Linked DNA regions of Homo sapiens: all the other regions are linked to region 1. Evidence: promoter capture Hi-C in human tissues and cell types (Jung and others, 2019). All regions are on one chromosome and are shown on one strand. Each heading gives the region's core, a stretch centred on a gene start or on the middle of the fragment in contact. The rest is flanking DNA. Distances are from core to core; before and after follow the strand shown. Region 1 holds the start of OTUD7A (OTU deubiquitinase 7A). Region 2 overlaps OTUD7A (OTU deubiquitinase 7A). Region 3 overlaps OTUD7A (OTU deubiquitinase 7A). Region 4 overlaps OTUD7A (OTU deubiquitinase 7A). Region 5 overlaps OTUD7A (OTU deubiquitinase 7A).

Region 1 (4,515 bases), core at 1,422-3,921:
TAGAAAAAAATCAACAAAACAAAGAAAAAGCTGAAAAGATGATTAAAATTAATAAACCTGTCCAGGTTAACCAAGAAAAAAAGACATTGGGCATAGTTTGCCAATATCAAAAAATGAAAGAGGCGTCATCTCTACTAATTTCATAGATGTTAAAAGAATAATAAAGGTTTATGATGAACAACTTTACACCCACAAGTTTGAATATTAGATAAAAAGGACCGATTCCTTGAATGATACAACTACATTTTACAGAAAAGCAAACAGATCACCTAATAGCTCTGTATCCACAAAGAATCAATAATTAATGAAGTCTCAAAAAAATCACCAGATTCAGATGGTTTCACCAGGGAATTTTACCAAACATTTATGGAAGAATTGATATAGGTTCTTTACAATTTCTTACAGAAAATACAAGTAAATATTACTTCTTAACTCATTTTATGAGGCCAGCATTACCGGCATACCAAAATAAATTAAAGACATTACAAAAAAGAAAACTATAGCCAAATATTTCTCATGAACATAGATGCAAAAGTCTTCAACAAAATATTAGCATATTGAATACAATGGTGTATAAAAACAATTATATACCATGCCCAAGTAGAATTTGACCCAAGTATGCAAGACCGGTTCCTTGAAAATCAATTGAAAATCAATGTAACCCATCATATCAACAAGCTAAAGAAAATAAAATCACATGACCGTATCAATAGATGCAGAAAACGAATTTGGCAAAATCCAACATTCATTCATGATAAAAACTCTGCAAACTAGGAATAGAGAGAACTTCCTAATCTTGATAAAGAAGAACTAAAAAAATCCTACTGCTAACATCATATTTAGTGGTAAGAAACTGGATACTTCCCCTAAATTCAGGACAGGACTGTTAAGAGAATGAAAAGACAAGCTTCCACTGGAAGAAAATACCTGCAAAACACGTATCAGATAAAGTACTTCTATCCAAAATACACAAAGAACTCTTAAAACTCAACCATAAGAAAACAACCTTTTTTTTTTAATGGGCAAAAGATGTGAACAAACATCTCACCAAAGAAGATATACAGGTGCATATGAAAAGTTGCTCCACATAATTTTTCAGTAGAAAATTGAAAATTAACAACGATATAGCACTATATGCCTACTAGAATGTCTAAAATTATAGATGATAGACGGATGGATGGATGGATGGACAGATAGATAGATAAAGATAGCCAATATCAAGTGCTGGTGAGGATGAAGGAAAGGGATTCATATTTGCTGACAGTTATAAAAATGCTATAGCCACTCTAGAAAACTGTTTGGTTCTTATAAAGTTAAACAAATTTACCATAAGATCTAGCAATTGCACTCCTAGATATTTAGTCAACTAATTTAAAAAATTTGTCCGTACAAAACGCTGCATGCAAATGTTTATAGAATGTTTATTCACAGTCGCCAAAAACTGGAAACCACGCAAATATTCTCCAGTGGGTGACTAAACAAAATGTGGTACAAATAATGAGACTCCCCTCAACAATAAAAAGGACTATTACTATACACAATAACATGGATGAATCTCCAAGGTATAATGATGAGGGAATAAAGTCAGTTTCAAAATGTTACATATTGCGTAATTCCATGTATACGACACACTCACAAAGACAAAACCGTAGCAATGGAGAACCTATCAGTGGTTACCAAAAGTTAGGGTTGGCGGGGGCGCTGTTATAAAAGGGCAGAACTAGGGAGCTCTTTATTGCGCTAGTGGTTACATGAATCCAAACAAGGGTTCAAGATCACAGGATTATATATCAAATAACCAATTTTACTGAATATCAATTTTAAAAGTCAAATAAATTATTAAACACTATTAAACATATACAATGTTTAAAGTCAAGCAAAAAGTCCTAAACTAAAAGTAAAATAATGATTGTTTAGAAGTACACCAGGATGGTATGGGTCATCTGCAATATAACGTCCTGTTTGGGATAAGGAAGCGTGACTACATCTACAGGGTGACGTGAGAAGGGCCCAGAGCAGCGAGCAGGTCTTGCCATCAGGGAGGGGAACCATCTGAAGGGGTGGCGTGAAAAAGTCTTTAGAGGAAGGCAAAAAATGGGAAAAGGTCAGAGAACCTTTTTGGGAGGTAAAAGGACCAGCTTTGGATTAGGCGTGATGCACAGGCCCCAGCGCAGGGCGTAGAAACTGCAGCCTGGACAGCCTGGGTGGGAGAAAGTTTGGGATGTTTAGGAAGGAAGGGTGCGCCAGCCAGGGGGAAGAAACGAGACAGGTGGCCGCAGATGGCGCGAGTCAGGCAGCAGGAAAAGGCAGGCTGTTTAAGCAGCCTTTTCCTGCAGTCCAGGCGGAGAGCGCAGAAGGAGCACCCCGAGGGGCAAGCATGGGAGAGCCGGAGCGGGCTCGCGGGCGCGCGGGCGCTGTACGTCCCCTCCTCGGCTCGCGGCCGCGAGCACGCGCTCTCCGTGCCCGGCCCCGGAGGGGCGGGGGCGGGGCACAGGCGCGGCGCGCGCACGTCCGCGCGGGGCGGGGGCGGGGCGCGAACGCGACCGGTGACGTCAGAGGAGGGCGCGCGCCCGGAGGCAGCAGGCGGAGCCGGGAGGCGGGCGTTGTGCGCGGCCGCGGGCGGAGCGGAGGGGCGCGAGGGGCGGAGCGGAGCGCGGGAGGAGGCGGGGGAGGAGAGGCCACCGGGACCGCGAGCGGCAGCTGGGGAGGGGGCCGCGGAGCCCGAGCGGGAGCAAAACAGCTGATCTGGTTTTCCTTTAAAGCGAGAGAAAATGGAAGTCGGGTAGCGGCGACTGCGGCGCTGCGGGCTGGCGGAGCGGAGCGGCGCGGCGCGGCAGGTAAGACGGCGCTGGCCGCGGTGCTGCCGGCGGGCGGCGGGGCCGGGCCCGCGGACCAGGCAGGTGCGCTCTCCGGGCGCGGGGCCGGCGCCGTCTCCTTCCCGAGCTCCGTGGCGAGGCAGGTGGGCGTTGAGGCCGGGCGACCGCGGGGCCGGGGCGCGGGGACGCGGGGGGCGCGGGCCCCGGCTGGGCTCGCCGGCGCGTCTGCATTGCGGGCTCCGCTCCGGACCCCGCGGGCTCCCGGGCCACCGGCTCCGGCCCGGCGTGGCGCGCCTCTCTCGGGCAGGGCGCGGCGCTACCGCTGGGTCGGGGCTGCTGCCTCCGCTCAGCCCTTTGGCTGTCCGCACTGGAACGTGATGCCAGGCGTGGGGCGACCGACCCCTCGGTCCGTGCGCGCGCGTCGGGGGTCCCGCGGCTCTTGCAGACGGCCGGGCAGGGCCCGGCCCCGAGCCGCGCGCGAGGCCGCTCGCCGGGCACCGGAGCTGTGACTGCGTGGGTCCCCGCGGCCCGGCGCACCGCCGTCCCGCTCGCTCTGCTGGGTCTCGCTGGACAGCAGGCAAACCATTAAGGCAATTTGGCTGTGAACCCAGAGGCCTTCCCTAGTATCTCCTCACTGGAGGGGAAAAAATTGCATCTGCGGTGCTTTAAGTGCTCCTTTAAATTTGGGAGATGTCAGTGATGTCATCATTAACTAAAACTTTCCTTCATTGGACACAACCGCTCAAGTGTACCCTCCTCCCTCCCGGTGAAGCTATTGCAGCCCTTTGAGAATCTCTGTAATAAAATGGATTTGCCTCTGCTCTGTAAACTCAGCTACCTCACACAAGTGCAAATGACTTTTATTTCTGTCTATTGGCTTGAGAATGTATAGATTTAAGAGTAGCTGAAGGGAAACTTGTGAGACCCCGATCAGGGAAACGCTTCATCCACAGCACAAGGATCCAGGGGAAAGTCATGTATGACATGCACATGGTTACCGCCAGGTGATACCTTTGTAAATGGAAGTGGGCTGTAAGAGGAACAATTTTTAAAAATATGATGAGGCAGATAATGTGTCCAGGAAAAGGTTGACAGCGGGGCCTAAATCTTTACAGGTCTTAATTGCTTCAGGAAAATCTGCAGGTGTCCTTCACCATCCTCCTCCTCCTCCTCCAGGGTGTGCCCGGAGAAGCCTGCCCTGGGCGAAGGCGGGGAGGCAGGTTCACTAGGGTCCTCCCAGCAGCCGTGTGTCCCACCAGCTTCAAAGGCCTCTTCAAGACCCAAAGAGGGTTCACGAGAACAGAGGTAGATCTGCACGGCACACTCAGTTCTGGATAAACATTCCCCACTAAATGGGATCAACACTCCATTATTTTATTGTGAGTGTGCCATTAGTACCAATTCTTATGGGAACAAAACTAAGCAAGTTCCCAAGGCAATCTGAGTATCTACTCAAGCCTATCATATCGAAAGGATATCCAATAAGGGACAAAAGTATTGACATTTTTGTATTTAATAATTAATGACACCTCCTAATTGGTTAAAATAAGCATGCCTTAAATTGTTAGTGTGATTTTATTGGATCTGTAAGGAATTTAATACCATATGCCACTCAAAAGTTGGGACCTGGTTAGGAACTTCAATCTCTTGAACCCTGTATTGGTGTGAAAAGAATGGGAAAACAGTGGTTACTTAGGCC
Region 2 (4,515 bases), core at 1,117-3,616, 230 kb after region 1:
CTCAGCCTCCCGAGTAGCTGCGACTACAGGCACCCGCCACCATGGCTGGCTAATTTTTTGTATTTTTAGTAGAGATGGGGTTTCACCGTGTTAGCCGGGATGGTCTCGATCTCCTGACCTCATGATTTGCCTACCTCGGCCTCCCAAAGCGCTGGGATTATAGGCGTGAGCGACCGCACCTGGCCTGAGGAATCTTTTGAGAGTGGTATATATGTATGGTATCTTGCAGTGATAACAGACCTCAGAGGTATTGCAGATTCAGTTCCAGACCACTGCAATAAATATAGCAATAAAGCAAGTCACATGAATTTTTTGGTTTTCTAGTGCATATAGAAATTATGTTGGCTAAGCACAGTGGCTCACACCTGTAGTCCCAGCACTTTGAGAGCCAAGGAGGACGGATAGCTTGAGCCCAGAGTTCCAGACCAGCTTGGGCAGCATGGTGAGACCTCGTCTCTATTGAAAAAAAAAAAAACAAAAACCTACAAAAATCAGCCTGGTTTGGTGGTGCATGCCTGTCGTCCCAGCTACTGGGGAGGCTGAGGTGGGAGGATTGCTTGAGTCGAGGAGACAGAGGTTGCAGTGAGTGGAAATCACGCCACTCTACTCCAGTCTGGGTGACAGAGCAAGACCCTGTCTCAAAAAAAAAAAAAAAAAAAGTTATCTTTATACTATTCTGTAGTCTACTAAGTGTTCAATAGCATTATATCTAAAAAATGTACATAACTTAATTTGAAAAAATACTTTATTGCCAAAAATGCTAACAATCATCTGAGCCTTCAGTGAGTCATAATCTTTTTGCTGGTGGAGGGTCTTGCCTCAATGTTTATGGCTGCTAACTGATCAGGGTGGTGATTGCTGAAGGTTGGGGTGGCTGTGACAATTTCTTAAAATAAGACAATCGTGAAGTTTGATGCATTTAATTGACTCTTCCTCTCATGAAAGATTTCTCTGTAGCATGTGTGATGCTATTTGATAGCATTTTACCCACAGTGGAACTTCTTTCAAAATTGAAGTCAGTCCTCTGAAACCTTGCTGCTGCTTTATCAAATGCATTTTGTAATTTCTAAATCCTTTTTGTCATTTCAGCAGTGTTCACAGCATCTTTACCAGGAGCAGATTCCATCTCAAGAAACCACTTTCCTTGCTCATCCATAAGAAGCAACTCCCCAACTTGAGATTGTAGCAATTTAGTCACATCTTCAGACTCCACTTCTAATTCCAGTTCTCTTCCACCACATCTGCAGTTAATTCTTCCACTGAAGTCTTGGACCCCACAAAGTCATCCATGAGAGTTGGAATCCATTTCTTACAAACTCCTGTTAATGTTGATAATTTGACCACCTCCCATGAATCACAGATGTTCTTATTGACTTCTAGAGTTGTGAATCCTTTCCAGAAGGTTTTCAATGTACTTTGCCCAGATCTATCAGAGGAATCACTATCTATGGCAGTTATAGCCTTATAAAATGTATTTCTTAAGTAATAAGAGTTGCAAGTCAAAATTGCTCCTTGATCCGTGGAGTACAGAATGGATGTTGTATTAGCAGACGTGAAAACATTGATCTTGTACATCTTCATCAGAGCTCTTGGGTAACTAGGTGCATTGTCAAATGAGCAGTAATATTTTGAAAGAAATCTTTCTTTCTGAGCAGCATGTCTCAGCAATGAGCTTAAAATATTCAGTAAACCAAGGTATCAACAGATGTGCTGTGCCCAGGCTTCTTTGTTCCTATAGAGCACAGGAAGAGTAGATTTAGTGTCATTCTTAAGGGCACTAGAACTTTCAGAATGATAAATGAGCATTGGTTTCAACTTAAAGTCACCAGCTACAATTGTCCCTGTCTGTAGAAGCTTTGAAGCCAGGCAGAGACTTATTCTCATCTAGCCTAGATAACATCTTCTTCCAATAGAGGGCTGTGTTGTCTACATTGAACATCTGTTGTATAGTGTAGCCACCTTAATCAGCGATGTTAGCTAGATCTTCTAAGATCTAGAGATCTTGCTGCAGCTTCTCCATCAGCACTTGCCACTTCCCCAGTGCAATAACATGAAACTTTTATGTTATTGAAGATGGCTTTTTTCCTTAAACCTCATGAACCAGCCTCTGCTAGCTTCTAACTTTTCTTCTGTAGCTTCCTCACCTCTCTTAGCCTCCGTAGAATTGAAGAGAGTTAGGGTCTTGCTCTGGATTAGGCTTTGGCTTAAGGGAATATTGTAACTGGTTTGATCTATCCAGACCACAGACCACTGAAACTTTCTCCGTATCGGCAATAAGACTGTTTCACTTTCTTATCATTTGTGTATTCACTGGAGTAGCACTACTAATTTCTTTCAATAATTATTCCTTTGCATTCAAAAGTTAGTTAACTGTTTAGTGTAAGAGGCCTAGCTTTTGGCCCATCTTAGCTTTTAAAATGCCTTCCTCACTAAGCTTAACCATTCCTAGCTTTTGATTTAAAGTGAAACATGAAATTCTTTTTTTTTTCCATTTGAACAACTTGACATTTTAGGGTTGTTAATAGCCTAACTTTAATATGTTGTGTCTCAGGGAATAGGGAGGCCTGAGGAGAGGGAGACAGGAGAATCACTGGTCAGTGGAGCAGTCAGAACACACACAACGTTTATTAAGTTCATCGGTATGTGTGGGTGTGGTTCGTGGTGCCCCAGAACCAGAACTGTTGTAATTACAACAGTAACATCAAAGATCACTGAGCACAGATCACTATAACAGATATAATCCTAATGGAAAAGTTTGAAATACTGTGAGAATTCCCAAAATGTGACACAGAGATGCACAGTGAGTGCATGCTGTTTGAAAAATGATGCCAATAAACTTGCTCAGCACAGGGTTGCCACAAACCTTTAATTTGTAAAAAGAAAATGCAGTATCTTCAAAGGGCAATACAGTAAAGCACAGTAAAATGAGGTGTGTCTGTATGGACACGTGTCAGCTTCTCAAATTATAAACTTAAATATGTGCATTTTATTTGGTGTCAATTGTATAAAGCGATTAAATTTTTAAAAGGACTGATGCAGACAGCACCTGGCGTCTGGGATAAGGTGTATCATTTTCCTCTTTATGGCAGGAACTGCCACGCCCCCTGTTTTCATGCTGCCGGAGACCAGCTGGCAAGTGGGGGGCAGTGGCTCTCCTTGCCAATCCTGGGCATGCAGGTGACAGTGCAGGGAGAGTGCCCTTCCCACATGGCCCCCGTTTGTAGCCACAGCTGTCCCTACAAAAACTGGGCAGCCTGAAGTGAATTAACAAGACAGTTTTCAGATCTTCACTTGCTTGTGGGTTTCACATGTCACATTTAACCTCCAGTTACATCGACTTTTTCAAACCCCACTTAGGCATCTTAGAATTTTATCATTTGCATTCTTTTATGTTGAATAAGAGAGTTGTAGTACATGCCCCACTGTCTGCTTTCTAAAACATCCAGGTTGGAGTTAGCGCCTTCATACACCCTCCCTGGAAGCACCAGGTGCCATCCTCAGTGCAGCGGCAAGGCAGTGTCGGGGCTCTCTGCCCCCAGGTCTCTCCCCGCCTGGTTCCATTGGCTGCTGGGAAGGATGCTTGGATGGGAGGTCTTTGTGTTTTCAGGCAGGAAATATTATTTGCTCCGCTAGCCCTAGGTCTTACTAATTTACTGTGCAATCTTCAACAAGTTTCTTGATCTTCTTGCTCTGTTTTCTCATCTGTAAAATTGAGGGCAGTGAGCAAGGTGACCTGTAGGTCCCAGGAGCACCAAGGTAGTGCCGTATTTAGTACCAGGTTTTCCTAAGAGGAAATGGGGGCTACTTGGGGTCAAAACAAAGGAGAGTCTTTCTAGATAGGGAAGGACTAGCAGTGGGTCAAAACTTGCCAAGAAGGACTATGAATGGAGCTTTGCTTGGGGTTTAAAAGCTTCAGTCACAGACTTGGAGGGGCTCAAACCCCTTGCTTTAGAAGGCAGAAACCAAGAACCACTAAGGACCTAGGACTTGCTGATGGTGTCTTTGGAGTTTAAGGTGGAACTGAAGTTAGAGCTGATTTCCTTCCTGTCACATCCAGTAAGACTGGGAATGGTTGGGTGCCAGAGGCAGGTTCCAGAAGGTGGGAAGAGTCCTGTCTGCGTCCCCAGGGTCCCAACCTTGAGGAAAGCTTGCTGTCCTTCTGTCCTGCTTCACACTCCCTTTGGTTAAAGGTTTCAGTCAGAGCCCGATAGAAACCTTCAGGAAAAAAGGGCCCCAGACTGAGGCGAGGACACTGGGGAAGCCTTGGGCGGTTTCTGTGTGGGGCAGCCCCTGCTCTGTGAAGCACAGGGGAACGGGACTCCATCGCTGTCATCGGCACTCATGCCCTGGTGCAGACCTGCAGGAACATTGCCTGCTGTATACAGGGCAGATGGGCACTGTGCCGGGAGAAGCCTGTAGGAAGGGAGGCCTTGAGGGATAAGGAGGGAACTCCGGCCATGAGCATGCACAGAGCTCCGTGAAGGAAGGCCTTGACAGACAGAGGCATGGTGGGTG
Region 3 (4,515 bases), core at 1,146-3,645, 210 kb after region 1:
GAAGGCTCAGGGGGCTCATAGTTCCCACAGAGTCCCTGCAGTCATGGCCTGAACAGAGTAGCAGCTCCATGAAGGTTGCTTAAGTGATCAATGAACACTGCAACCTCGGATACGGGAAAGAAGACGGAATTGAAGGCAGGAGCCCCCACCAGTTTAACCCTCTGTGATTCCAAGCCAAGGCACTAGAGGTAGGCCCCTTATTCCTGCCTTCAGCAAGCTGGTGGAAGCAGTTTTCTTGCTCAGTGGAGACCTGGGAAGGCAAGGGTGGTCTCAGGGTCCCTGTTGAGAGTTCATTCATTGGCTCATAATTAATGTATATTGAGCATGTACTATGGGCCAGTACATTTTGTGCATGAGTTCCTTAAAATTTCATAATAACTGTGAGATACAATTATTATTATAATTGTATTGATGAGGAAACTGAGGCACAGAGAGGCGATATAACATGCCCAAGGTCACACAAAGTGGTGGAACCATTTTGGCCCCAGAGACTGATTCCAGGGCCAACGCTCTGTCCCCACACGGCACTGCCCCTCCTAAGGCAGTCACCATGCATTGATGGGACACATTACTCTCCCTGGGGTGGCTGATGAGACCTTCAGAGACATTCTGTCCAAGGGCTAGGATGCACTGAGGAGAACAGGAATGCAGGGCCAGGGCACGGCCACCCAGAGCCTCATGCTGTTCAAAGCGGCTGAGTGAGTGCTTTAGACCACACAAGGCAGGTTGAGAGGCACAGTGCATGCTTGGGAGGATGGCACGGAGCAGTGGGTGAGGATGGCCCAGGTAGCTGGGGTCAAATGTCCCCACCAGCCCAGTCCCTCCCATATCATCATGGGACATGAATGTGAGGGTGTGGTGATGGTGGCAGTGTGAGGTTTAAGAAATACATCTGGAAAGCTGGGTGTGGTGGCTCACGCCTGCAATCCCAGCACTCTGGGAGGCTGAGGTGAGCGGATCACAAGGTCAGGAGATCGAGACCATCCTAGCTAACATGGTGAAACCCTGTCTCTACTAAAAATACAAAAAAAAAATTAGCTGGGCATGGTGGTGGGCGCCTGTACTCCCAGCTACTCAGGAGGCTGAGGCAAGGAGGATGGCATGAACCCGGGAGGCGGAGCTTCCAGTGAGCCGAGATCGCGCCACTGCACTCCAGCCTGGGCGACAGAGCAAGACTCTGTCTCAAAAAAAAAAAGAAAAAGGAAAAGGAAAAAACAGCTCTGTGCTGTGCAAGTAATCCTCACTGAAATAGATGTGCTTGCTAAAACGAGGAAAGCTGAGACAGCCCCTGGCCAGGCCCGGGCATGGGAGTTGCTGGTCAGCTGGTAAGCGGGGACCTGTAGGGCCCAGGAAGACAGAGTACATGCCTCAGGCAATTGGCCAAGGCCAAGATCCAGCCTCCTGTGACAAAAAGCCAAGCCTTCGGCCTCAGTCTGAGAGTAAGGAGATCACATGCTCTTGTTCTCTGATCTGTCCCCCAGGTGGCAGTGACGAAAGAAGAGACTCTCCCGGCCGAGGCCCCAGTGCATGGAGAGAAGGAAGAAATCAATTTCCTAATTGGTACCATATACATCAGGTCAAATAATTTTCTTCTTTTCTGGCCGCATCAACTAAAAATTGTACCCAATAGGAGCTGTGTGCAAGACGGGGTGGTCACAGTGAATGTCTCTGAGGGTACAGACCTCCCTGCCTGAGACCCTCAGTCCTCAGGGTCTTGCACGTTAGGTGAGCTCATTTCCTGCATTCCTACAGAAAATCAGGAGGGCTCAGAGAGGTGAAGCCCATGTCACAGCTGGACAGGGGCAGGGCCAGGGTCAAATCAGGCTATGTGCCTGGCTCTAAAGCATGGGCCACTGACACAGGACCTACTCCACCAAGCAGCACCCATCCCAGTGGGTTACTGTGAAAGAAAGAACAGAGGACAGTCATCAATAGCATGGGATTCAAACTCACCCCACAATATGTAAAATTAATTACATACTTCCTAGCATAAAATTTTCCATTGCCTGTAATGGGGTCTGCAAGCTTTTTCCATAAAGTTCCAGGAAGTACATCTTTTCAATTTTGTGGACCTTAAGGGTCTCTGTTTTAACTACTCAACTCAGCCAGGTGCAAAAGCAGCCACAGACGCTATGCAAATGAGTGGGTATGGCTGTGTTCCCATAAAACTTCATTTACAAAAATGGGTGGCAGACCACATGTGGCCCATGGTCTATAACTTGCAGACCTCTTATCTACACAAACACAAGGATGCATTTGCACTCCACCGGCAAAGATTGAGCACCCACTGGGGCCCCAGCACCATTCACTAGTGTAAGTTACTCTCACTTGTAATGTCACAGTTGCTTTTCCCCAGCAGTCAGCTGCTACAGTCAGCCTGGGTCAAGCTGCTGTACATCCATTCTATTTCTCTGGCTGGGATCATGCTGCCTGGGAAATCTGACATTCTTAAGAATGTTGTTGGATTGATGGCAGCTCTTAGAGGGATGGTAGATAGTTCAGTAGCCATCTTCAGCAAGTGTGGTATTTCCGTCAACTGTGGATTAACCTTGGCTATTAGTCTTTCCTAATAGCCAAGTAAGGGGTGAGAGCTGAGGGGGTAGGATGGCACACTGATAAAGGCATAATTGGAATAGAGTGGGTAACATTCATCACATTGTGGAAGTATTACAAGTCTATACAATTCGGAAGAGGATTAGAAATCTAGCAACTCCAACTGAATTTTTCTAGGTATACTTAGGTGTTTGAAATTTTAAAATAGTCTTTTTTCCTCATCAGTTATTGGAATTAATAAAATGTAAGTTCAGGAGTGCTGGAGATAGTGATGACCCCTTGCCTTAGTCTATCTGGGCTGCTATGTCAAAATACAATAGCTTGGGAGGCTTATGAACAACAGAAATGTATTCCACACAGTACTAAAGGCTGGGAAGTCTAAGATCAGGGAACCAGCAGATTTGGTGTCTAGTAAGGGCCCATTTCCTGCTTCATAGATGGCACTGTCTTTCTCCATCACCTTGGAGATTAGATATCAACATATGAATTTTGGGAGGGAACACAAACATTTGGCTCATAATACCCCTTCTCTCACATGGCATGTACACAGGGATGAAATTTTAGTTAGCATTCTATAATATAATGTCTTGCATGAAGAATCAGGCAGTTGGACCAAACCAATTCTAAAAAATATGACAGCAGGTGGAAATGGCTCCACCCTCGAGGGTTCTCTCGCTCAGGTCTCTGCATGTAGTTGTCACTTGCAGCTCCATTTCCATCACGTGGTAAAATGCCCTTTCTCTTCTTTCCTGCAGATGGATGGTTTCTAGTGTGCTTCCAAACCCCACCTCGGCTGAGTGTTGGGCAGCACTTCTACATGATCCTATGACTCTTGATATGGACGCAGTCCTGTCAGACTTTGTTCGGTCCACGGGGGCAGAACCTGGTCTGGCCAGAGACCTGCTGGAAGGTAAGCCCACCTCCTTGTTCCCCACACCACCATTCTGGGCATAACCACCTTCCAAATAAGAAGATTTCCAATACCTGATGACAGTGGTACTTGAGCACTAAGTGGGCTTTGCTTTGTGTTACATCTTACCGATATTAAGTCAAAATTTTATCACTAATTATTATATTTAAGAAAATATGTTCAATGGAGCAGAAATTATAAAACATTCAAGAAAATACTTTTGTGGTAGGCCTTAGTTTCATATCTCTGTGTTAGCGGAGACGAAAATACTCTAGGCCAGGGTTTTTGGTGGAAAAAGCACCTACTATCCAGGAAAGCCACTGGGAGTAATTCACAAGCAAGAAGACAGCCTTCATCCTCCAGCTTTTCACGTAGATACCATTTGCTGCATGAGAAATTGCATCCTCCGTATGTATGATGTTTTCAGATATGTATTCAGCCATAACCATAGTGAACTAAAATGAAAGTGTAGTTTCTATGTCTCTAAAATGGATTTACCTTTCTTTTTTTTTTCTGATGGCGGCAGTGGTATGTAAAGGTGGGAGGGACCAGTTACAACTTCTCAGGACAGTCAGCTGTGTGAGAGGAGAGAACTTTGTAATGTTTACTCTTTACTTCAAATGTATAAACTGCAATTTGTGGAGTTAGTAAATACTTGGTCAAGAATTGTAAGTCACAATGATTCTTTAAGTCACTTAGGGAAAATAAGAATTATTGTACATTTGCAGAAGTGGAGAGAACTATTCAATCATATTGAAAATTAAGAACCACCTACTGGAGGATTATCAAAAAATGGCAATGGCAAAAGCATAGTTTTTAAATTTTCCCCAACCTATTAGAATTTCAAACCAACTCCAAGTTTAGAATAAAATATGCTGAGAGTTTTTGCAATCTATGGAAATCAAAATATGATTCTCCCTTCCTGCTATTTATATTATATAATGTCTCCCTGTCAGTTTCCATTATTTTCATTAAGTGGGCAGCAGAGTGGAGAAGCAGGCTTGGAATAAGGTCGGCAGTGAAATCCGAGTTTGAGTTCAGATTCAGCCACT
Region 4 (4,515 bases), core at 577-3,076, 160 kb after region 1:
GGTGTTAATACAAATTCCATTATTGAAATAACATATGTAATAATATATAATATGTAATTAATCCATATGTAATATATTAATCAATATTACATATAATACATAATATGTAGTATGTATTATATAATGTATATAAATATATAAAAATATATTTGTGTATTTTATATATAATACATGTGTATTATGTTATATGTATTTTATATACTATTATATATAAAATATGTTTAAATAATATAATTGTAAATTATTTTATATATATAAAAAACACATATTTCTCATGCTATTATCTGTTTCTTTGGGTTTCTGCCAAAAAATCGTTTTTATATTTATATTATAAATTATAAACATTTTAATATGTATATATTCGTTTTTATAGTTTTTATAACTATCTAACTTCCTTACAAACCAGCATGAGCCACAGCTCTCTCTATTTGCGTCTCACTGCACCACTGCACTGTGGGCAGCACCCGTTCTTATTGTACCCTCAGAACAGCGCACAGCCTAGCACCTGTAGGAAGGACTCGATAGAATTTTCTTGAATGGAAATAGCAGTGTACCCTTCAAGAAAGGGTCACTTTGGAGTTAGGAAAAGGATGAAATGCTCAGAGATAAAGCAGAGGAATGTGTTGAATGGCCAGTTGACTTTATAATTTTCATTTATTTCTTCAACTTGTTTTCACTGAGTGGCTGCAGCATCCCCTGAACTGTGTACTAAGGTCCCAAGGGTAGAAAAGACAAAACAAGCAAGTTCCCAGAACTTAAATTCTCCAGGGAACAGAATGGCATATATGACTGGCTGGATGGATCAATGAATGGACAGATGATGTATGTAGTGTTATTACAGACAATGGTAGTGCTACAAAAGAAGTGATTGGTACTGCAGTGAAATAATGGGGAATGTAGTTCAGCAAGGAAGTCAGAGAAGGCTTCTTAGCAGTGGTGAAATTGAAGCAGACACTTGAACTAAAAGGAGGGGGAAGGGAAGCACTGTGGAAGCTCTTCCAGGTGAAGTCAGTCCCAGGGCACAGAGGCCAAGGAAGCAGCAGGCTGTGTGTGGGGCACACAGAAGGCTCAGCCTGCAGTGCTGGTTCTGGACAGCCAGGCGCCATCTGAAGCTGCAGAGGTGGAACAGCGAAGTGAGGCAGGACAGTCGAAGGCTTGGAAAGAAGTTTGGTCTCACTCCAGTGCAGTGGGAAGCTATTGTTGGGTTTCAAGCAAGGTAGGATGTGACATAATTTACATCTTTTGTTTTGTTTTGTTTTTTTGAGACAGAGTCTCACTGTTGCCCAGTCTGGAGTGCAGTGGTGCGCTCAGCTCACTTCAACCTCAGCCTCCCAGGTTCAAGCAATTCTCCTACCTCAGCACCCTAGGTAGCAGGGACTACAGGTGCCCACCACCACACCCGGCTAATTTTTGTATTTTTAGTAGAGACGGGGTTTCACCATGTTGGCCAGCCTGGTCTGAAACTCCTGAACTCAGGTGATCCGCCTGCCTCGGCCTCCCAAAGTGCTGGGATTATAGGCGTGAGCCACCACGCCTGGCCAATTTACATCTTTTAAAGATTCTTGTGGCTGTGTTGAGAAGAAATTGGAGAAAGGGGCAGACTGTGGTTTGCTCATGTTAGTAAAAATACTTAAACTAAATGAACTGATCAATAGCACACCAGCAAATGTCCAGCTGAATGCCAGTAATGCTGTTTTTCAAAAATGTGTGCTGACAGAATTTGGAAAAGTCCTTCACAAGCTTATTTATTAGCTTTGCATAAGGGCTGTTTTATGGCCCGTAGATTTTTGCGGCTCATTGTTTTTATTGAAGAATAATGTACATACAGAAAAATGCACATCAAATGTACAACTTCATGAATTATAAAAAAATGTAAATATGCCTTTTTATTAAATAATCACTGCCCAGCTCAAAAACTAGAACATGAGATGCAGGCATCTGCCCCCTTGAGCCTTCTCCCTATTCTTTCTCCTTTATTCAGTCTTTCCATTCTCCTGACCTCTCACCTGCAGTTTTGCCTATTTTTAAACTCAGTGTGATGAATGGAATGAAATAATGTTTGCTGTGTGTACCACCAGTTCATTCATTCATACTACGCTATTCATGTACTATTTGTCCGTGTGTGAGTATACTGTAGTTTATCCATATATTCCAATTGTCCAGTGGATCCATTGGTTATCATTTGGGCTGCTTCTAGTTCTTAGTCCTATGGCGATACTTCCTGTATTTTTTGGTGCACAGGTGTACACATTTTGGTTGTGTAGGTACCGAGTGCTGAAAGTACTGGCTTACAGGGGATGTGTAGGATGAGCTGTGGTAGATTCTGCCAAGCGGTTTTTCCAAGTTGCCTTACTAATTACACTCACACCAGCTCCGTGGGAGGGCCCTGGTTGCGTCACATCTTTGCCAACACTCGGTATTTTCAATTTTTGTAATTTTAGACATTCTGGTGGGTATCTAATTTTCATTTTCATTTAATTTCACTGATGACTAATAAGGTTGAGCAACTTTTCATTGATTTTTGGCCATTCAGATGTCATCTTGTGAAGTGTATGTACAAGTATATTTCCATTTTGCTATTGAATTGACTGTTTATTTCTTATTAACTTCTGAAGTGTTTATTCAGGGTACCAGTCCTTTACTGAGTCTATGGATTGCAATGATGTTTTCTCTCTGTGTAGGTTGCTTTTCACCTTCTCTAGGTTGTTTGCTAGTGCAGAGAAGTTCTTAATGTATCTACTTTATCTGTTAGGGTTTTTTATTGTTGTCGTTATTGAGACAGAGTCTCTCCCTGTTGTCCTGGCTGGAGTGTAGTGGCACGATCTCAGCTCATTGCAACCTCTGCCTCCTGGGTTTAAGCGATTCTTCTGCCTCAGCCTCCCGAGTAGCTGGGACTACAGGCGCCCACCACCACACTCGGCTAATTTTTGTATTTTTAGATGAGACAAGGTTTCACCATGTTGCCCAAGCTTGTCTCAAACTCCCCACCTTAAGTGATCTGCTCGCCCCAGCCTCCCAAAGTGCTGGGATCACAGGTGTGAGCCACCGTGCCCAGCGTACTTTACCATTTCAATAGTAGTTTTGGCATCTTGTTTCAGAACTCTCTGCCCATCCCAAGTTCATGCAGATGCTCCTCCATGTTGCTTTCTAGAGGATTTATTGTTTTACCCTCTACATTCAGAAACGCCATCAACTTGGAGTTGATTTTCATGTATACTGTGAAGTAAGAAGACAGATTTTCTCATATGGCTTTCCCATGGACTCAGCACATTTACTGTGGACATAAATACTCTCTCAAATACTCCACAATGTCATTTTTGTCAAATATGACCTCTATAAAGCCACATGCAACAGAATGTCAGTATTGAAGTTTGACAGCAATATGGAAGTGTAACAGATGACACATCTAAAATGAGATGCCAGGCCAGAAGCCCCAGTTAGGAAGGAATGAGCTAGGATCATTTCCCTCATTTTTGAACACCTTGAACTGATCAAGAATATAAAGAAGGAATCAGATGTAGGGAGGAGAAAGGATTCTGTGAAGAGAAATTTTTGAAAAAGCTGTTAGAATGCCACTGTCAACTCAATGTCCTTCTGTTTCTGGGGCTTGGGGAAGGTGACCTACCCCTCACCTGGAGCCTTTAGGCTGAGGATCAAGAGAGTGTTGAAGATAAAGGTGCCAATGCTTGGATCTGGGCATCTCATGAGTGAGGAAAGGGACCAGGATGCATTCCTTACGGTTGTCAGAGTGCGTGAGGACCATTATGGCCCCCGGATGGGCCGTGCCTGTGGGAGCTGGCAGGGGTGGTGTTGGGCCCTGTCACTGGGGCAGCGTGGAAGGAGAGAGGGACCCGAGTAGCAAGAAGCTAGAGGAGGACTTCAGATGCCTAGTACGCTGACACTGCAGAAAGTGACTGTTAAGAGGAGGCGTGCAGCTGCCTGCGGTAGGAATGCTGCACGTGAGTGACCCCACCGTGGAAATCTCCAAAGAGGCTCCCAGGAGAGCAGCTGAGCCTCCTCCGGTGGCCGGACCCCAAGCCCGAGACAGGACATGAAGCAGTCCCTTCAGTCCAAAATGCTCCTTCCCCCACCTCCACACCACTACCCCAGAGCAGTTAGCAGAAGACAGATGCCAGGCACAGCACCTTCCCCAGGAAGGACCCTTTGGAATTCTCTCAACTAAATGCATTTTAAAGGGGCCAGAAAGAGATTTAAAACAATAAGTAAATAAGTTGCATTTTGATTACATCCCCAAAGTCCTGCTCTTTCAGTTTTCCTTTGAGCAGTTAACTACTGACCCTCTGCACCGCCCTAAGCAGAGGTAGCTGATCACTCAGGAGGGTCACTCTTGTGTGAGGGGAAGCCTCCCACTAGCCCAGAAGTGCTCTGGGCCATAGTTGAGCTTTCATATTGCTGCACCATGTAGACGCTCAAGTGAGACAGAAACACAAAAACACAATAACCGCCATCTGCCAAGGAAGCAGGAAAAATCACCTTTCAGGCCATTGTCCTGGT
Region 5 (4,515 bases), core at 1,402-3,901, 130 kb after region 1:
ACAGGGGGTAACAGCCCTATCAGCGGAGGCAGCATAGGTGCTGGTCCTTTCCTCCACAGAAAACTGTCATGGCAGATAATCCTCCTGGGTTGTCAAATTAGGGATCACTGTCATGCTCTATCAGAATGCCTCTGGGACCCTTGGAAACTATGGGATTGCTCCAAGGAGGATGCAGGCAACTGATCTCCCTCCCTGGACCTCTTTTGTAGATTCAGCGCTGATGGTGGTGGCTGGAGTTCCTTCTTCTCTTCCATTCTGACTTATTGCATGCTCAGGTCTCCATCCTCAGCCAAATTCTTCACCTCTCCTCTTTACACTTAGGATGCCAGTTATAAAGATGGGAGATAAGGGATCCACAGAGGTCCTCATCTGGCCCCATGGAATCCTCATCATTAGCTCCAGGCCCCCTGCCATTCTCCCTCCTCCCTCTCTCCCCATCCCCCCATGCCCAAGTTCTTCTGTCTTTGCTGTCTCCTATTTAACTAATTATTCCCTCCTGGAAATTCTCTGCCTTGTTTTCTCTGGCAAACTGTTAACCTTTTACAAAAATGCTCTCAATTAATTTTTTCGCAAAAATAGTGACATTTTTACAGCCAGTGAAACAATGAAAAGAAGCTAAAAAATGTTAATAATACCACCCAATTTATACTTCCTTGAGCTAACAGATACTATGTACAAACTACCAGCTACACCTATACATTTATGAACATAAATATGCACTTTTATAAATAGATACTTTTTTACAACCAGTGACTGTCCATGATTCCCTACAATACATATGATTCTGAAGCTTCCCTTCCTCAGGAAACTGTACAGCATGGATGTCCTTCCAGATGAGCAAATCCAGTCTAATTTCTTTCTCGAATGCTGTGTGATAGTCCCGTATGAACACATTCAGTCTATCCAGTTATTTCCTGCTGAGAAGCATGCTGACTTTCTCCAGTTTCTGCCACTTCAAAAATTCTTTATATCATTGAACACTTTCTAATATACTCCTGCTCTTATTTCTGTAAGATATATTTCCAAAAATGGGACCACTGAGTCAACAAGTTCTTAGATATTGAACTTGAATCGCCGTTTCCAGATTACTTTCCAAAAAGGGCATAGAAGTTCACATCTTCCCCCAAAATGCAAGTGCATGCAGTGCTCAATAAATCCCTCTGACCCTGGATGTCATCCCCAGGGTTTTTCCAGTTTGTGTGAAAATGATATGGCATTGGCAGTTTGCGTCGTTTTTTCATGACTACCTTTTTTGATGCATTACTGGCCATCTTGATTCCATTTCTGTAAACCGCTTGTTCGTGTCTTTTGCTGGAGTTTTTGTGGGGTTGTCTGTCTCTATTTCAATAGTGGATAGCAGTTCTTTGTTTAGAGGGCTGTTAGTCCCTTGCCTGTGTATGTGTTTCAACGATTTTTCTAAGTATATTAATGTCTTTTTATATTGTTTATTTTGCCATATTAAGAAACATTATCTGGTTAAATATTTCTATTATTTTTATTTATGATTTCTACCTATCCTACATTGCTTAAGAAGGTCTTCATGCCATCTGTAATTCCAGCACTTTGGGAGGCAGAGGCAGGCATGTTGCCTGAGCCCAGGAGTTCAAGACCAGCCTGGGCAACACAGTGAAACCCTGCCTCTACTAAAAATACAAAAATTAGCTGGGCATGGTGGTGTGTGCTTGTAGTCCTAGCTACTTGGGAGGCTGAGGCAGGAGAATCACTTGAACCTGGGAGGTGGAGGTTGTAGTGAGCCAAGATTGTGCCACTATACTCCAGCCTGGCAACAGAGCGAGACTCCGTCCCCCCGCCCCCCCAAAAAAAAGAAGGTCTTAAGCCAAAGTCATACAAATACAAAGTCATACAAATATTTGAATATATTTTCTTTTAATATTTTTACGGTTATTTTATTTTACATTTATATTTTAAATTTATCCAAAACTTATTTGTGTTGAGGGTGGGAGGATATAGATTTGTTTTCTGCCAGCTCTGTCTGTTAAATAAACTACTCTTCCCTGGGGACGGAAATGGCACCTGGAACATACATTGATCTCATAGTGCATTGGTCGGCACAGCTTCAGTGTGAGGCGTACACTCCCTCCCTGTCATTCTTTTCTACAGTTTTCTTGTTTGAGTTTGGATGTATGTTAATATATCTGAAGAGCTTAAGACAGCACCTCTTTTTTGTTTTCTGCTAAATTTATTTTGTTTTACTTACATCTTTAAACATTCAACTATGGAAAATATTAAACATCTATAAATATATACAGAGTAATATGCTGAGTCCCATGTACCCATCACCCAGCTTCTGTAATTATCAAGCTGTGGCTAATCTTTTTTTTGGGGGGGTGGAGTTACCCTCACCCATTGCTAGTGCAACTACAAGTGTAAACGTGTTCACTGCTTTTATCATTATTACTACTAATCTTATTTTTATAACTTTTAAGTTCAGGGGCACATGTTTGTTACAAAGGTAAACTTGTGTTGTGGGGGTTTGTTGTACAGATTATTTCATCTCCCAGGTATTAAGCCTAGTACCCATTAGTTATTTTTCCTGATCCTCTCCCTCCTCCCACCCTCTGCCCTCCAGTAGGCCCCAGTGTGTGTTGTTCCCCTCTATGTGTCCATGTATTCTCATCATTTAGCTCCCACTTATAAGTGAGAACATGTGGTATTTGATTTTCTTTTCCTGCGTTAGTTTGTTAAGGATAATGGCCTCCAGCTCCATCCATGTCCCTGCAAAAGACATGATCTCATTCTTTTTTATGGTTGCATAGTATTCCATGATGTTTATGTACCACATTTTGTTTATCCAGCCTGTTATTGATGAGCATTTAGGTTGATTCCATGTCTTTGCTGTTGTAAATAGTGCTTTAATGAACATATAGGTGCATGTGCCTTTACAATAGAATGATTTATAGTGCTTTGGGTATATACCCAGTAATGGGGTTGCTGGGTTGAATGATATTTCTATGTTTAGGTCTTTGAGAAATCACCACACTATCTTCCACAATGGTTGAACTAATTCACACTCCTACCAGCAATGTATAAATGTTCCTTTTTCTCCACAACCTTGCCAACATCTGTTATTTTTTGACTTTTTTTTTTTTTTTGAGACAGAGTTTCACTCTGTTGCCCAGGCTGTAGTACAGTGGCGCAATCTCAATCTTGGCTCACTGCAACCTCTGCCTCCCAGGTTCTAGCAATTCCCCTGCATCAGCCTCCCGAGTAGCTGGGATTACAGGCGTGTGCCACCACACCCAACTAATTTTTTTGTATTTTTAGTAGAGATGGGGTTTCCCCATGTTGGCCAGGCTGGTCTTGAACCCCTGACCTCAGGTGATCCACCCCCGCCTTGGCCTCCCCAAGTGCTAGGATTACAGGCATGAGCCACCATGCCCTGCCATTTTTTGACTTTTTAATAAAAGCCATTCTGACTGGTGTGAGATGGTATCTCATTGTGGTTTTGATTTGCATGTCTTTAATGATCAGTGATATTGAACTTTTATTCATATGATTGTTGACTACATGTATGTCTTCTTTTGAGAAGTGTCTGTTCATGTCCTTTGCCCACTTTTTAGTGGGGTTTTTTTCTTGTAAATTTGTTTGAGTTCCTTATAGATACTGGATATTACACCTTTGTTAGATGCACAGTTTGCCGAAATTTTCTCCCATCCTGTAGGTTGTCTGTTTACTCTGTTGGTGTTTCTTTTGCTGTGCAGAAGCTCTTTAATTAGATCCCATTTGTCAATTTTTGCTTTTGTTGCAATTGCTTTTGGCATCTTCATCATGAAATCTCTGCCTGTACCTATGTCCAGGATGGTATTGCCTAGGTTATCTTCCAGAGCTTTTATAGTTTTGGGTTTTACATTTAAGTCTTTAATCCATCTTGAGTTGATTTTTGTATATGGTGGAAGGAAGGGGTTCAGTTTCAATCTTCCATACATGGCTAGCCAGTTATCCCAGCACCACTTATTAAATAGAGAGTCTTTTACACGTTCCTTGTTTTTGTCAGGTTTGTCAAAGATTAAATGGTTGAAGGTGTGCGGTCTTATTTCTGGTCTCTCTATTGTGTACCATTGGTCTACGTATCTGTTTTTGTACCAGTACCATGCTGTTTTGGCTACCGTAGCCCTGTAATATAGTTTGAAGTTAGGTAGCATGATGCCTCCAGCTTTGTTCTTTTTGCTTATGATTATCTTGGCTATTCAGGCTCTTTTTTGGTTCCATATGAAATTTAAGATACTTTTTTCTAGTTCTATGAAGAATCTCAATGGTAGTTTAATAGGAATAGCATTGAATTTATAAATTGCTTTGGGCAGTATGGCCACTTCAATCATATTGATTCTTCCTATCCATGAGCATGAAATGTTTCTCCATTTGTTTGTGTCACTTCTGATTTCTTTAAGCAGTGTTTTGTATTTTTCCTTGTAGAGATTTTTAACCTCCCTGGTTAGCTGTATTCCTTGGTATTTTATTCTTTTTGTGACAGTTGTGAATGGGAGTACATTCCTG

The links. The method cuts DNA at HindIII sites, captures the fragments that hold promoters and counts their contacts. A contact is called where the count stands out against the background at its distance.
Region 2: a fragment that was not itself captured here is called in contact with the fragment with the promoter of OTUD7A in region 1 in 2 of the 25 tissues and cell types used here (dorsolateral prefrontal cortex and lymphoblastoid cells).
Region 3: a contact is called between a fragment that was not itself captured here and the fragment with the promoter of OTUD7A in region 1, in 1 of the 25 tissues and cell types used here (dorsolateral prefrontal cortex).
Region 4: a fragment that was not itself captured here is called in contact with the fragment with the promoter of OTUD7A in region 1 in 2 of the 25 tissues and cell types used here (dorsolateral prefrontal cortex and hippocampus).
Region 5: a contact is called between a fragment that was not itself captured here and the fragment with the promoter of OTUD7A in region 1, in 1 of the 25 tissues and cell types used here (dorsolateral prefrontal cortex).

The regions. Positions count from the first base shown.
Region 1 is chr15:31,868,829-31,873,343 of GRCh38, reverse strand. It overlaps OTUD7A (OTU deubiquitinase 7A), which reads left to right and starts at 2,671. Exons shown (of 13, transcript NM_001382637.1): 1 at 2,671-2,837. RefSeq lists a silencer at 2,639-2,708. The HindIII fragment of the contact is 13,679 bases long and covers 1-4,515 here.
Region 2 is chr15:31,634,523-31,639,037 of GRCh38, reverse strand. All of the region lies in intron 3 of OTUD7A (OTU deubiquitinase 7A), which reads left to right. Among named protein-coding and RNA genes, the nearest start is that of OTUD7A, 230 kb to the left of the region's middle. The HindIII fragment of the contact is 3,326 bases long and covers 704-4,029 here.
Region 3 is chr15:31,654,044-31,658,558 of GRCh38, reverse strand. It overlaps OTUD7A (OTU deubiquitinase 7A), which reads left to right. Exons shown (of 13, transcript NM_001382637.1): 2 at 1,482-1,576; 3 at 3,309-3,463. The coding sequence starts at 3,313. Among named protein-coding and RNA genes, the nearest start is that of OTUD7A, 210 kb to the left of the region's middle. The HindIII fragment of the contact is 4,743 bases long and covers 24-4,515 here.
Region 4 is chr15:31,711,879-31,716,393 of GRCh38, reverse strand. All of the region lies in intron 1 of OTUD7A (OTU deubiquitinase 7A), which reads left to right. Among named protein-coding and RNA genes, the nearest start is that of OTUD7A, 160 kb to the left of the region's middle. The HindIII fragment of the contact is 4,221 bases long and covers 1-3,936 here.
Region 5 is chr15:31,734,132-31,738,646 of GRCh38, reverse strand. All of the region lies in intron 1 of OTUD7A (OTU deubiquitinase 7A), which reads left to right. Among named protein-coding and RNA genes, the nearest start is that of OTUD7A, 130 kb to the left of the region's middle. The HindIII fragment of the contact is 4,666 bases long and covers 319-4,515 here.